2 separate regions of the Homo sapiens genome follow, and region 2 is linked to region 1. The links are contacts of gene promoters, found by promoter capture Hi-C in human tissues and cell types (Jung and others, 2019). All regions are on one chromosome and are shown on one strand. The core of a region is centred on a gene start or on the middle of the fragment in contact, and the rest is flanking DNA. Distances in the headings are between cores, read along the strand shown. Region 1 holds the start of TRAF1 (TNF receptor associated factor 1). Region 2 overlaps CNTRL (centriolin).

What was found. Contacts are between HindIII fragments. The study calls those that stand out against the background at their distance.
Region 2: a fragment that was not itself captured here is called in contact with the fragment with the promoter of TRAF1 in region 1 in 1 of the 25 tissues and cell types used here (adrenal gland).

What each region holds. Positions count from the first base shown.
Region 1 is chr9:120,921,957-120,928,247 of GRCh38, reverse strand. It overlaps TRAF1 (TNF receptor associated factor 1), which reads left to right and starts at 1,452. Exons shown (of 8, transcript NM_005658.5): 1 at 1,452-1,698; 2 at 1,947-2,312; 3 at 4,456-4,543. The coding sequence starts at 2,173. RefSeq lists enhancers at 1,174-1,493, 1,834-2,173, 2,634-2,703, 2,300-2,823. The HindIII fragment of the contact is 9,494 bases long and covers 1-5,826 here.
Region 2 is chr9:121,083,916-121,090,868 of GRCh38, reverse strand. CNTRL (centriolin) reads right to left here. Exons shown (of 44, transcript NM_007018.6): 3 at 2,326-2,573; 4 at 464-594. The coding sequence starts at 2,542. Among named protein-coding and RNA genes, the nearest start is that of CNTRL, 12 kb to the right of the region's middle. The HindIII fragment of the contact is 3,281 bases long and covers 1,526-4,806 here.

The DNA of each region.
Region 1 (6,291 bases), core at 203-2,702:
GTGCGTGGTTACAGGACTGGCTCTGGGTTCAGGGGTCCCCACTCACTAGCTGTGAGACCTTGAACAAGTCGCTTAGCCTCTCTGTGCCTCAGTTTTCTCATCTGTAAGGTGGGGATGATGATGGCAATACCTGCTTCACAGAGTGAAAATTAGATGAGATGATGTCTGTAAAATTACGTAAGACGGTACCCAAAAGTAGTACTATTTTTCCCTTTTCTTATTAGAGCAGGTTGCGCACGTTTTGATGTCCGTGGGAATGAGCAGGTAGAGAGGGTGGTATTGAGGCCGGAGGGGAGAGAAGGGACCCACAGATGGGGAGAGAAGTCTTGGGTGCCTGTTTTATCCCAAACCAGGGGAAGGAGGGAACAGGTAGGGCTGGCTGCAGGAAAGCTTGCAGGTATGGGGTACACAGTTAAAAGGGAGTGTCTTCTGATAGTCTTGATGCAGGCCTGGAGGTCGTTTGTTATGGGGGTGGAGGTCCTGATGTACATTGTGGCGGTAAGATGCCGTGCTGTCTTTGCCACCAGCCTGTGGCAGCCCTGGTGTTACACCAGGGCAGGTGGGCAGTTTAATGTATCTCAGGCCAGATGACCTGCCCTGCCCACCTGTTGAGGCTCCAGTAGATAGACGTGAAAGCACAGTATAAGCATAATGCACCACTTTAATCCTTTTCTCTGAGGAGCTGGAAGGCCTGTAGTCACCATCTGAGCCAAATGTCATTCAAGTACTTCACTTGGGTTACACACCACACTTTGACCCACTATCTCATTTAGTCATCACAACAAATGGGTGAAATAGGTATTATTGTCCCATTTTACAGATGCAGAATCTGAGTTTCAGGGAAGTTAAGGACTTTGTCCCAGGGCCCACAGTTAGTAAGCAGTGGACCCAGGATTTCAACTCAGCTCTGTCTGACCTCAAAACCCATGATCTGAAACCACTGTGAAAGTTTGCAAAACCTCTGTAGCAGCCAAGCAGGATGGAAAGATGTGTAGGGATTGTCTTCTCCATTTGATAGATGAGACAAGAGCTGGGTACTCTGATCTCCATCCCAAGCACACAGAGCTTGGGGCCCCACAGCCCTGGTGTGAATCCCACTCCACTACCAGAGGCTGTGTGCCTTTGGACCAGGCATCTTGCTTCTCTGACCCTATATACAGCTGCAGAAGAATTCCTTGCAGGTTGCTGTAAGGATTTGGAGGGAAACTGTTGCCCAGCACACAGTACACATTCTGGGAGCCATCGTTTCCCCAGTGCACTTTTCCTGCAAATGTGGATCTACATCCCACTTGGATGCTGAGACCAGCTGCTGTGATCTTGCATTTGTTTAGCGCTTTGTTCTCCTTGAGGCAGTAAAGTGGTGGCACCTGACCGGAGCATGTAGCCACCTATGACTTCCTGAGTGGGGTGGTGTGGGGAGGGCCCTGAGGAGTCTGTGGTCCTAGGCCTTGGATTTCATCAGGGCTTTCCTGCTCCTTCTGGTTGCCTCAGTCCCAGGCAAGATAGGGTCCCAGAATCTTACAGCCCAGAGGCCACCTGTTGCAACTTCTTTTTTACAGATGGAGTCATCAGAACCCACTGTGAGGAAGTGACTTCTCCTTGAGGTCACCCAGACACTCCAAACAGAGCAGAGCAAAAGCGCCTAGAACTTGAAATTTTGGACCTGTCTCCAACACCCTGGGGATTTCCACCAGGAAGGTGAGCACCCCCACTGAGAATTCCAGGCTGCTCAGAGGTGCCAGGGAACACAGACCAGGGACCAGCTGTGGCCCCCTCCTCCGATGTGCCCAGGGAAGTGGGGGAAGCCAGCGGCAGCCTGCGATTCTCAACCAGGGGAACTCTCACTGTGCTTTCTGAGAGTCTGTGACACGGGTCATTTTCTCTGACTTGCTCTCTTGCTTTTTCTCACTCTAAAAAAAAAAAAAAATGACTGGACACTCCTAAAGCCTTCAGTCACCATCCAGGGGATTTTTATCGCCACAAAGGGTAATTCCTGCTCCATCCCTGCTGTGACTCAGCTGTGACGTTGAACCACACAAGCCAGAGAGAAGAAGATAAAGTCATCAGAGCTCCTACTCACCAGAGAGTGAGGCCCAGGCCAGGACTCCACAAGGCTGGTCCCCTGCCCTGGAGCAACTTAAACAGGCCCTCTGGCCAGCCTGGAACCCTGAGATGGCCTCCAGCTCAGGCAGCAGTCCTCGCCCGGCCCCTGATGAGAATGAGTTTCCCTTTGGGTGCCCTCCCACCGTCTGCCAGGACCCAAAGGAGCCCAGGGCTCTCTGCTGTGCAGGCTGTCTCTCTGAGAACCCGAGGTGAGGTGATGGAGGAGCGGAGGGTGGGCAGAAAGTGGGTGCCAGGGAGGGACCCCTGATGGGAGGTGAGGGGCAGAGGAGCCTGTGACTTCAGGCGGTGACTTTTCTTCTCTGGGCCTCAGTTTCCACACCCTTTTCTCACACTCCCTGACACTGCCCCTCTGGCTGTGGTGGAAGGAGAGGAAGCCACAGAAAGGCATCAGCTCCCACAGGGGAAAGCCATCCACACCGAGGAGAGCCTCGAGGCTGTGAGGCCACTGTCTCACTGTGTGGTCTGGTGCTCTGCTAATGTCCCTAAGCCGCAGCTCGCTTGTCTGTAAAGCTGTTTTCTGTGTCATAGAATTGTTAATGAAGCCCAATGAATAATAATCACAAAAGTCCTTATAATAACAAATATAAACCTCTTGGTGAATGACAAACTGTTAGACGAATATCTCTCCTTCCACAGCATTGCTCATCACCTCAGACCGTTTGCTGGGAACCCTTTTGGAGGGGACAAAGAGATCGATATATATTTGTGTATTTAATGATACTTAAAATATTAACAACCCAGAAAGGCATGATATCAGTACTATTGTGGACATCCCTCTTTAAGCAATTATGCACCTACTGTGTGCCAAATGCTCTGCCCTTGGGTCCTCAGCACAACTTAGAGGGGTGGATACTATTATGATCCTATTTTACAAATGAGAACACTGAGGCCTAACAGATTAGGTCAGCTTTGGTCAGTTTCCTGGCAAATATGCCCTTAAACTATCTCATGTGATGACCTTTTGTTTGCGGTTTTACAGCTTAAGAAGGTGGCAAAGCTGAATCAGGCAAGTGAGAAGTTCAAACATGACGACAAAGGAGGAGGCTGTGAGAATAGCGAGGAGAGGCTGTGGCCGTGGAAAGGCCAGCCAGGAGGTGGAGGAGCAGAGGTTCACTGGTTTTACCATCAAGCGGATTGTCAGGGTTCAGCTCAGGCTCTGGTAGTGGGTCTCCTGGTTTCCCCTCTCCCTCCTTCCAAAACCTGGCAGAGGAGGGAGCTGATTGGAAGTTGGAGGGCTGAGGCCTGAGGCCTAAGTCCTGAAGAGCTTCTACTCAGCTCTGCTCCTGACTCACTCTACCTTGACCAATCCACATGCCCTCTGGGGCCTCATTCCCTCACTTGTAAAATAGACTATCTCGGTAGCGGTAGCAGGTCAGAGACACCAGGAGCTTTGTAAAAACACAGTTGCTGGCCAGGCGCAGTGGCTCATGCCTGTAATCCCAGCACTTTGGCAGGCCGAGGCAGGAGGATCACTTGAGGTCAGGAGTTTGAGACCAGCCTGGCCAACAAGGTGAAACCTCATCTCTACTAAAAATACAAGAATTAGCTGGGTGTGGTGGTGTGCACCTGTAATCCCAGCTACTTGGGAGGCTAAGGCATGAGAATCACTTGAACCTGGGAGGCAGAGGTTGCAGTGAGCTGAGATCGCACCACTGCACTCCAGCCTGGGCTACAGAGTAAGACCCTGTCTCAAAAAAAGAAAAACCCCCAAAAAACAGACAAAAAACCCACGGGTACCCAGGTGTTACCCATTAGAATCTGACACCCATTCCTGATTAAGAACCTCTAGGACAGATGTTCTCTGAGGCCCTTTCTTGTTCTAATAGGCCATGATCCTCTGTAATTACTAAACATATAAGACCAAAACCAAATGGAGGACCAAATGAGAAGAGCAAATATAGTCACATGTCAGCAATCTTTTGCCTAAACCCCTGAGATCAGATGTGTTTTGTAATTCAGAATTTTTTTTAGAAAAGCAAATCAGGGCATCATGTAATTGTGGCAGGGAATGCGGCAGTGCCCTGTAATCAAGCACATTAATGTTTCTGCAATGAAACATGTATATATTCACACTAAGTGGGGCAAGTAAGGGCTATAATAGCTTCCGGTCAGTGCAGTCACGGCAGGTTTGGCAGCCCAGGAAGCTCACTGCAAACTACCAAAAAATGTGGGATACTCGGCAGTTTTGCGATTTAGGAACTGTGGCTCTGGGATTGTGGACGTACATGATCACCACCCTGCTGATAGTTGAGGCTTCTGGAGCTGTCAGGAGAGTGGATGGTGCAGGGAGCTGTAGTGCCTCTCTCCAAGGCTTTGTCCATGTTTCCCCAGGAATGGCGAGGATCAGATCTGCCCCAAATGCAGAGGGGAAGACCTCCAGTCTATAAGCCCAGGAAGCCGTCTTCGAACTCAGGAGAAGGTACGTTGGCACATCACAGAAAGGCATTTGTCCGTTGTCTTGATTTTTCCAGGTTGAAGCCAAGTAGACAGCTGCCCACTCCACCCCTGGCAGGCACCTCCCAACTAGTCCTGAGTCCAGACTGAATTTGCTTTATAAGGAATAAGGAGACTGATGTTCACAGTGGTGAAGTGTCTTGCCTAAAGCTACCTGGCAATAGACTTAGAGTGAGAACAGTCCAGACCAGGGGTCCACAAACTACGGTTCATGGGCCACATTCTGGCCCACCACCTAAGCAACGAGCTAAGAGTGGTTTTTATATTTTCAAATGGTTGAAAAAATCAGAAGAATGATAGGCCATGCATAATGACCTGTAATTCTCGAGGCTGTGAGGCCACTCTCTCACTGTGTGGCCTGCTGCACTGCTAATGTTCTCAAGCCACAGCTTGCTTGTCTGTAAAACTGTTTTCTGCATCACAGAATTGTTATGAGCCCCAATCAATAATAATCAAAAAAGTTCTTATAATAACAAATATAAACCCCTTGGTAAATGACAAACATGCCTGTAATTCTGAAGTGTTAGAATTCAAATTACATAGAATTACATGCCTGTAATTCTAACACTTTGGGAGGCCGAGGTGGGCGGAGAGCTTGAGCCCAGGAGTTTGATACTAGCCTGGGCAACATGATGAAACCACATGTTTACAAAAAATATAAAAACTAACCTGGCATGGTGGCACATGCCTGTAGTCCCAGTTAGTCTGGAGGCTGAGGTAGGAGAGTCGCCTGAGCCTGGGGAGGTCGAGGCTGCAGTGAACCATGATCGTGCCACTACACTCCAGCCTGGGTAGCAGAATGAGACCCTGTCTCAAAAAAACAAAAAAAGATATTTTGGGACACATGAAAATTATATAAAATTGAGTACTTGCAACAAAGACTTCATAGCCCAAAATATTTACTATCCACCCCTTTACATAAAAAAGGTTAGCAAACTCCTCATCTAGATGGTTCTGTCTGCCTCTGTTTGCCTTTAGGTGGGGAGAGACCATTATCAGCTCACGTCCTGAGCTCTGTCAAACGGTGCTTCTAGGAATAAGAGACACATTTGGAAGTGTGATAGGCCAGAGAGACATTTTCAGGAGCTACAATTTAGAACCCTGGCCCTCCCAAGCTGGAAGGACCCTCATAGGTTACATGTCCTGCTCAGAGGTTCCCACATGCTATCCAGAACTGATCCATTCCCACCAGCTCATGACAAAATGATAAAAATAAGGCAATTCTATAAATCAGTTTATGTAAACTAAATTCTTTCCATTTATAAAACCAAACTTTTACTCTGAGATTGCGTCTGTCCTATGCATGTCTTTATATAAATGAAAGGATGTAATCGTAGATGATAGTTTTTGGCAAAGCCTTTGCTAAGTAAAATTAAAAAGATGACAATCTCTTTGTTAATCTCTCAATTTAAAAAAAAACACACTCGTATTGGTCCACGAATCCAAACAGGCAGGAGTCACTGCTCAAAATCAAATCCTCTTGTTTACACACGGGGCCCTGAGACCTGCAGAGGAGTCTCGTTGCTCAGCCGCCCTCTCTACCTCCACTGGGAAGTGCCTGGCTCCTTTCAGCCAAAGCCCTCTTCTTGCAGCAAACTGTGGCCCAGGGATCAGGAGCCTGATGTCCAGGGGTGGTTCTGCATAATTCTCTGCTTGGCTAGCAGCAATTCCCAGGCCCTGTTTCTGTATCTGTAAAATGAGGATATTAAGTCA
Region 2 (6,953 bases), core at 1,917-4,416, 160 kb before region 1:
CTTTTGTAAATTGCCCAGTCTTGGGTATGTCTTTATCAGCAGCATGAAAATGAACGAATACAAAGGCCAAATAGTAAATGTTTTTGGCTTTGCGGGCCATATAGTCTGTGGCAACTACTAAGCTCTGCTACTGTAGTGCAAAAACAACCACAGACAATATGTAAACAAATAAGGGTGACTGTGTTCCAATAAAACTTTACTTACAAAAATAGATAGCTGGCCTGATCTGGCCTGTAAGCTGTACTTTGCCAACCCCTTCTCTACAGAGTCAATGTTGTAAGAATATTGAGTAATAGAAACTTATTAATTTGGAAATGTCATATACTTCTGATTTAGAACATTCACTGGAAACAATAAAAGGTCTGCCACAAATTAGGTGACATTAGGATAATTTTTTTTCGCAGTATTAAAGCACAGAAAAGTTAAAAACAGTATCTATGCTCAGAAATTGTTGGTAACCTACCTTAAATTTCTTGCCACCGTCTTTAGAAAGTGAAAGGTTCAGAGATTTTATCAAAGCCAAATTATCCTGTTTAGTAAGTTTTTTAATGAGGGCCTCTGTAATATATCTAACTCCTGCATGTGAATCAGCTCCTGAAATTATAGAAACAGATCATCATCAGTAGAGGAAAGACATGAATATCACAAAGAACAAGTTGTTTTGATGTTATGTAACAAAAACAAAAATTAAGCCATGAATATACCAAAAAAGCTGGCTATTTCTAATCATAATGTTTTAATAATATTTTACTTCATAGCATTTCATAATTATAATGAAATAATGATGTAATGATTGTAATACTATAATGTATTATAATGTAATAACTATAATGTATTGTATATTACAATTAATGTATTGTAATACTATAACGTATTGTAATGTAGTAACTATAATGATACAAAGATGATAATGGTTATACACACTATAAATATTTGGTGTGTGCCAAGCTTTGGGCTAAGTGGTTTACATTTTTAAAATTTAATTTATACAACAAACCTTTGAGATAGAAATTATTAATATCATCACTTACTAAAAAAAATCATTTGCTCAAGATCCTACAGCTAATTAAGGCACAAATCCAGAACTTGAATCCAGTCAGAGGAATATAAAACTTGCACTTTTAACTATATGAAGTTTTCAGCAATATTTTCGTGTTAGTTTTTAAAAATAAACTGGTAATACTTAGTTGTTTGTTTTTTTAGAAAATTCCAATCTAAAGTTCAGAAACACTGAAATTCTTAAAAATCCTCTTTTCCTATTTTTTTATGGTAAGAAACTCTAAATTTGTTGCACTTTTAAATAGAGAAAATCACAACATATTTTATAGAGCTAGAGCAGTCACTTGATGGATGGCAAATCTGGTCTTATAACTTTCCTGGATATTGTTGTCAAAGACTGTTAATGCCACATTACATTTTACAAAAGTAGCCCTAAAAAGTAAATCACCTCTTGGTTCCTGCCTTACGAGTCAGAAAAAATTAATCCTGGGTTGAGATCCAGGCTGTGAGCCAAAGATTCTCTAAGATTATTTACAAGTTAGTATTAAATTTATTTTGGTGCAAAATAAAAAGATATTTAAATTTAACTTGGCTTGTTCTTGGAAAGAAAATTGATTAATATTCTAAATTTGATAACATTCTAAAATATTAATCAAATTAGAAATAACAATATGCCAACTTGCAGCAAAGATATAGTATAAACTCAGTGTTGTTAATGCTAATAAAACCTGATTAGAGTTTAATGGCTATTATTTCATGACTTACCAAAGAATAACTTACTTTTGAAGTTAAATGCTCTACCACTAAGCTATACCCCCAACAATGCACTTTTGAGAACAGATTCCTAGACTAACAGATGATTTTAAGAAAAAACTAAAACACTAGTGGAACATACATACATGTCCCATATGTGGAAATCAGTCCATTCACAGATAAGCAGTTTGCTAATAAGAAGACTGGCATAGGCCAAGTATGTATAACGTTTTTTTACTGAATTAAGGCGCTCCACTCTGAAGTGAACAGATCTTCCCTCCCCTTAACCAAAGAGGATGGCAAGTTTTGGGATGAGTTTTAAGACACTCTCCTACCACAGGAAACAAAGCTTCCTCTTTCTGAAAACTCCCTCTTTGAATCCACTGACATCTTTACCCTCACCCAGAAACCTCAATCCTCCAACTGTCCTTACAGTCCTTAATTTCTGTTAATAAAAACAATAGATCAAATTAGTACCAGAATGTTACAGTTGGACCAAAAATGCAAGCCGAAAATTTTCCATCTCTACTTGAAGTATGTGGTCAGACCAATTCTTAGATTAAAAAGTGATACCTTTATGGTCTTGATAGTCCAAAAGCATATTGTTTTCATCTGCAATCTCAACTTGCTCACACCACTGTCCTCCAGAATGAAAAGGTAGAGTCTCTGATCCAATCAAAGGTGAAAGTGACCTAGATCTCATATTGGACATAGATGATGGGATAGGAGAGTGAGATGATGATGGTATCTTTGCTTTGGAGAATATTTTTTGTTGAGAACCTTTCTTCATTGCAAGAATAAAGCCAGGTGTTCATCAAAACCTGTAAGAGTTTTCAGTATATTCAACAAGATTAATTTTTAAGAGTTATCAAAACTATTCTTTCTAGAACCTTCAGGTCTATAAAGTTATAAACTCAGAGGCCATAAATGCTAGGACCCATACTACTCCAAGCTGATGGAGCAGACACTGTATCAAACATCACTGATGACCTTGCCAGAGAGAAAAGGGATCTCCAGAGGGGATAGAATTGACACATGCTCCAGCTGGAAGTGTTGTCATTCCTGTTCTGTTTATTGAACCAAACTAGTCCCAAGGCCCCTTTTACCCACATAACGGGGTCCTAGAATGCAGGAAGCTGGAATATTTGGCAACCAGCAGTATTTAATACTGATGAGCACTCTCTCCTTCCTCAAAGTTTCTTCCTTTGGTTTCTGGGACACCGCATTCTCCTGGTATCCTCCTGCCTCCCTGGCCACTCCATGGACTCCTTTGCTGGCTTTTGTTCCTCCTTGCAGTGTAATTTAAACATCAGAACTCCTCATTGGTCCCTTCTAGTTTCTGTCTAATCTTATCTTGGACAAATTAATGCACACCCATGGTTCCCAATGCCATGTGTTTACTCTATTTAATTTTTTATTTTTTTTGAGACAGAATCTCACTCTTGTCGCCCAGGCTGGAGTGCAATGGTGCGATCTCGGCTCACTGCAACCTCTGCCTCCCAGGTTCAAGCTATTCTTCTGCCTCGACCTCCCGAGCAGCTGGGATTCCTGGCGCCTGTCACCATGCCCGGCTAATTTTTGTACTTTTAGTAGAGATGGGGTTTCGCCATGTTGGCCAGGCTGATCTCGAACTCCTGACCTCAGGTGATCCACGTGCCTTGGCCTCCCAAAGTGCTGGGATTACATATGGGTGTGAGCCATCATGCCCAGCCGATATTTATAACCTCAATCCAATCTTTCTCTGAGCTCCAGACTCCTATTTCCAATTGCCTACGTGATATCTCATTGGCATCCTACACTCAGTCCAGATTGAATTTATTTACCCCGTTCCTCCTCTCACTCTCCTTTTCGTCTTCCAGTGTTCCCTAAATACTGAACACTGCTCGCTGGAATAAGCCAAAAACCTGGGAGTCATTCCTGACACCTCCCTCTTCCCTTGTCCCATACTCAGTCAATCGCTAAATCCTGTTAATTCTTACTCCCAAATAACCTCTCAAATTAAGTCTGCTTCTTTCCATTTTCACTCTCACGCACTCTAATCCAAGCCCTCATCAAACTACTATAACAGCTTCTAACTGATCTGTCTACAAGCTCTCTTGCCTTATTCTTCCATCATTACATTGCAGTCAGATAGCCAGAGTGATCTATTTAAAAAGTAAATCCAGTCCAGGAGCGGTGGCTCATGCCTATAATCCCCGCACTTTGGGAGGCCGAGTCAGGTGGATCATCTGAGGTCAGGAGTTTGAGACCAGCCTGGCCAACATGGCAAAACCCCGTCTCTACTAGAAATACAAAAATTAGCTAGGTGTGGTGGCATGCACCTGTAATCCCAGCTACTTGGGGTCGAGGGGAGGAGGCTGAGGCAACAGAATCTCTTGAACCCAGGAGGCAGAAGCTGCAGTGAGCCTAGATCGCGCCACTGCAGTCCAGCCTGGGAAACAGAGCGAGACTCCATCTCAGGAAAAAAAAAAAAAAAAAAAAAAGTAAATCCAGCAGTCTGTAATGAAGGAAATCTTTACCATGACCTACAAGGTGGTCCCCCATGATCTGTCCCTATTGCTCTAGATTCACCTCTGTCATTCGTTCCCTCAATTGTGGGCTCCAGTCACACTGGCCTCCTCACAGTAATAATAATGCTTGATCTCATTCTTTTTACCATGTTAATTTGTAGTCTTCCTTCAGAGATCAGCTCAACTGTTGCTTCTTCAGGAAAGCCTCCAGTGCAGGGCAGATGAAGTGAAGTCCCCGGTTCTATACTCTCAATGAATTTGTATTTTTTCCTCACATAATCAGTTTGAAATTACACATTTATGTCATTTTGCTTAACATTTGTCTCCATTCTGAACTGTATGCTCCACGAGAGCCTGTCTGTTTTGTTTACACTGTCTCCCGAGTCTAGCATAGTGCCTGGTACCTAGCAGGAACTCAATACATATTTGTTGAATAAATGAATGAATAGAGTTATCTTCCAGTCATCCCTCTCCATCGTCCAACAATATTGATTCTATCTCCAAAATATTTTGAAATTCGTCTCTATCCATCGTCACAGCTACTGCCCTAGATTCAACTTTTATCCTCTCTTGCTTAGACTATTAAGATACTCTCAGAACCACCTTCCTTCCAGTTCTCCTTTATCCTCAATCCATCCTCTACCTTTGACCCACTTATATAATAAAAACAAAAGAAATGTAATGGTTCCCAATGCCTATGAGTCTAAACATTTTGGCACCATGCACTACAAACAGGACTCATCACAGTCTGGCCCAAACTTTCTGGCCTCCCCACCACATACCATTGCTCTAGTCATCTTTTTGTCATTGCCTGAACACATCATGAGTTTTTGCTCATGAAATTCCCTTTCCTTAAAGGGAATTCGTTAAAGGGAATTAAACATCCTCTTATTTCTCTCAACCAATTAAACTGTTACTTTTCTTGTGAAGACTTTCCAGAAATCTACTTTCTTCCTACAGAATGAATCCTCCCTGTTTATTACACTGAATATACCTACTATATATCTTTTGCTTGCTCAGAATGTAACAACCACAAGTGGAGAAGTAATCTCTGAATTCCCAGCAGCTCCATGGTGTCTAGGTCATGAATACATCTAACATCTTATAACTAGAATTCACCCTGTTTAAAAACCATACTTTCAACAGTGTGCTCTTTCATGCATGTGCTCTCTCTCTCTCTCTGTATGCATATTTTTTATTGCAATGTATCATACATAAAGTACATAAATCATAAGTGTATATAGCTTCATGAATTTCTATGCAGTGAACACAAGCTATGTAATCAGCATCCAGGTAAAGAAACAGAATATTTCCAGAATCCCAGAAGTCGTCTCATGCCCCCTTCCAGTCACTAACTCCCACACATGGGGAATCACCATCCTGACTTCCAACACCAGAGATTTTTGAACTATTTTTGAACTTTAGAGAAATGAAACCATAAAATATCTTTTAAATCTGCCTTTTTTGTTAAATATCGTTTCTGAAATCCATTCATATTTGTCTCATGCTATATGAAAAACATCTGATCACTTCAAACTTCAGTGTCTACTATTCTTATTTACAAAATCAATTTTATTGAAGTATAGATCTTCCAGAAGGAACTAAAGCATTTGTTAATGAAAGAGACCTTGGTCAAATTCCTTTAAATGTTTTCATATAAAAATATTTCTTTTCCTATATGAAAGAAAGGTAAAGTTCATGACCATTAAGGCTCAGAATGGTTTAGCACTGTGACTTGATTAGTCCTTAAAAATTACATCCTCAGCCGGGCATAGTGGCTCATGCCTGTAATCCCAGCACTTTGAGAGGCTGAGGCGGGCAGATCACGAGGTCAGGAGATCGAGACCATCCTGGCTAACATGGTGAAACCCCGTCTCTACTAAAAATACAAAACATTAGCCAGGCGTGGTGGCAAGCGCCAGGAATCCCAGGTGCTCAGGAGGTCAAGGCAGAAGAATAGCTTGAACCTGGGAGGCGGAGCTTGCAGTGAGCCAAGATCGCGCCACTGCACTCCAGCCTGGGTGACAAAGCGAGACTCCATCTCACAAAAAAAAAAAAAATGACATCCTCTTCTATCCTAGGCATACAGTGTGCTGTGCCTACAGTGTGCGTACAGTATATAGCACACTGTAGGCCTCGAACAGAGCCTAGCAAATGGTAAATAATTAACATTTATTGAATGAGTTAATCATAAATAACATAAAATGTAAAATGTACTAGTTAGTATCTCAACAAAAAATGTCTGCATGAGCAATACTAGTCCTTAACATCAAGAGTCCTACATTTGCAAGGTTAGGTGTATGCAAAAATGATTTTCATGATACACAGTTGTTCTTATAAGTACATTTAGTCTAAAAACAGTACAAAAATTATAAACTTTACAAACTTTTGGACAAAAAATATTATAAGATGTATAGATCTCGAGCAAGGCTACATTAATAATGATGCTATCTTTGCTTAGTACCTTAATTTCCCCTATAGTCACTGCTGAAAATGTGAAAACAGAAATTATTTTTTAGAAAAAAAATTTAATGAAATAAGATATTAGGTTAAAGTAGTTTTTAATCCAAGGATTTAGAGTAGCTCAAGTCTTAATGCTATATAAATTGATATTAGAAAGGGATAGTGGAATGACAAACATCTTCATATATGTGATATTGTGAAATACATACAGTCACGCATCACATAACA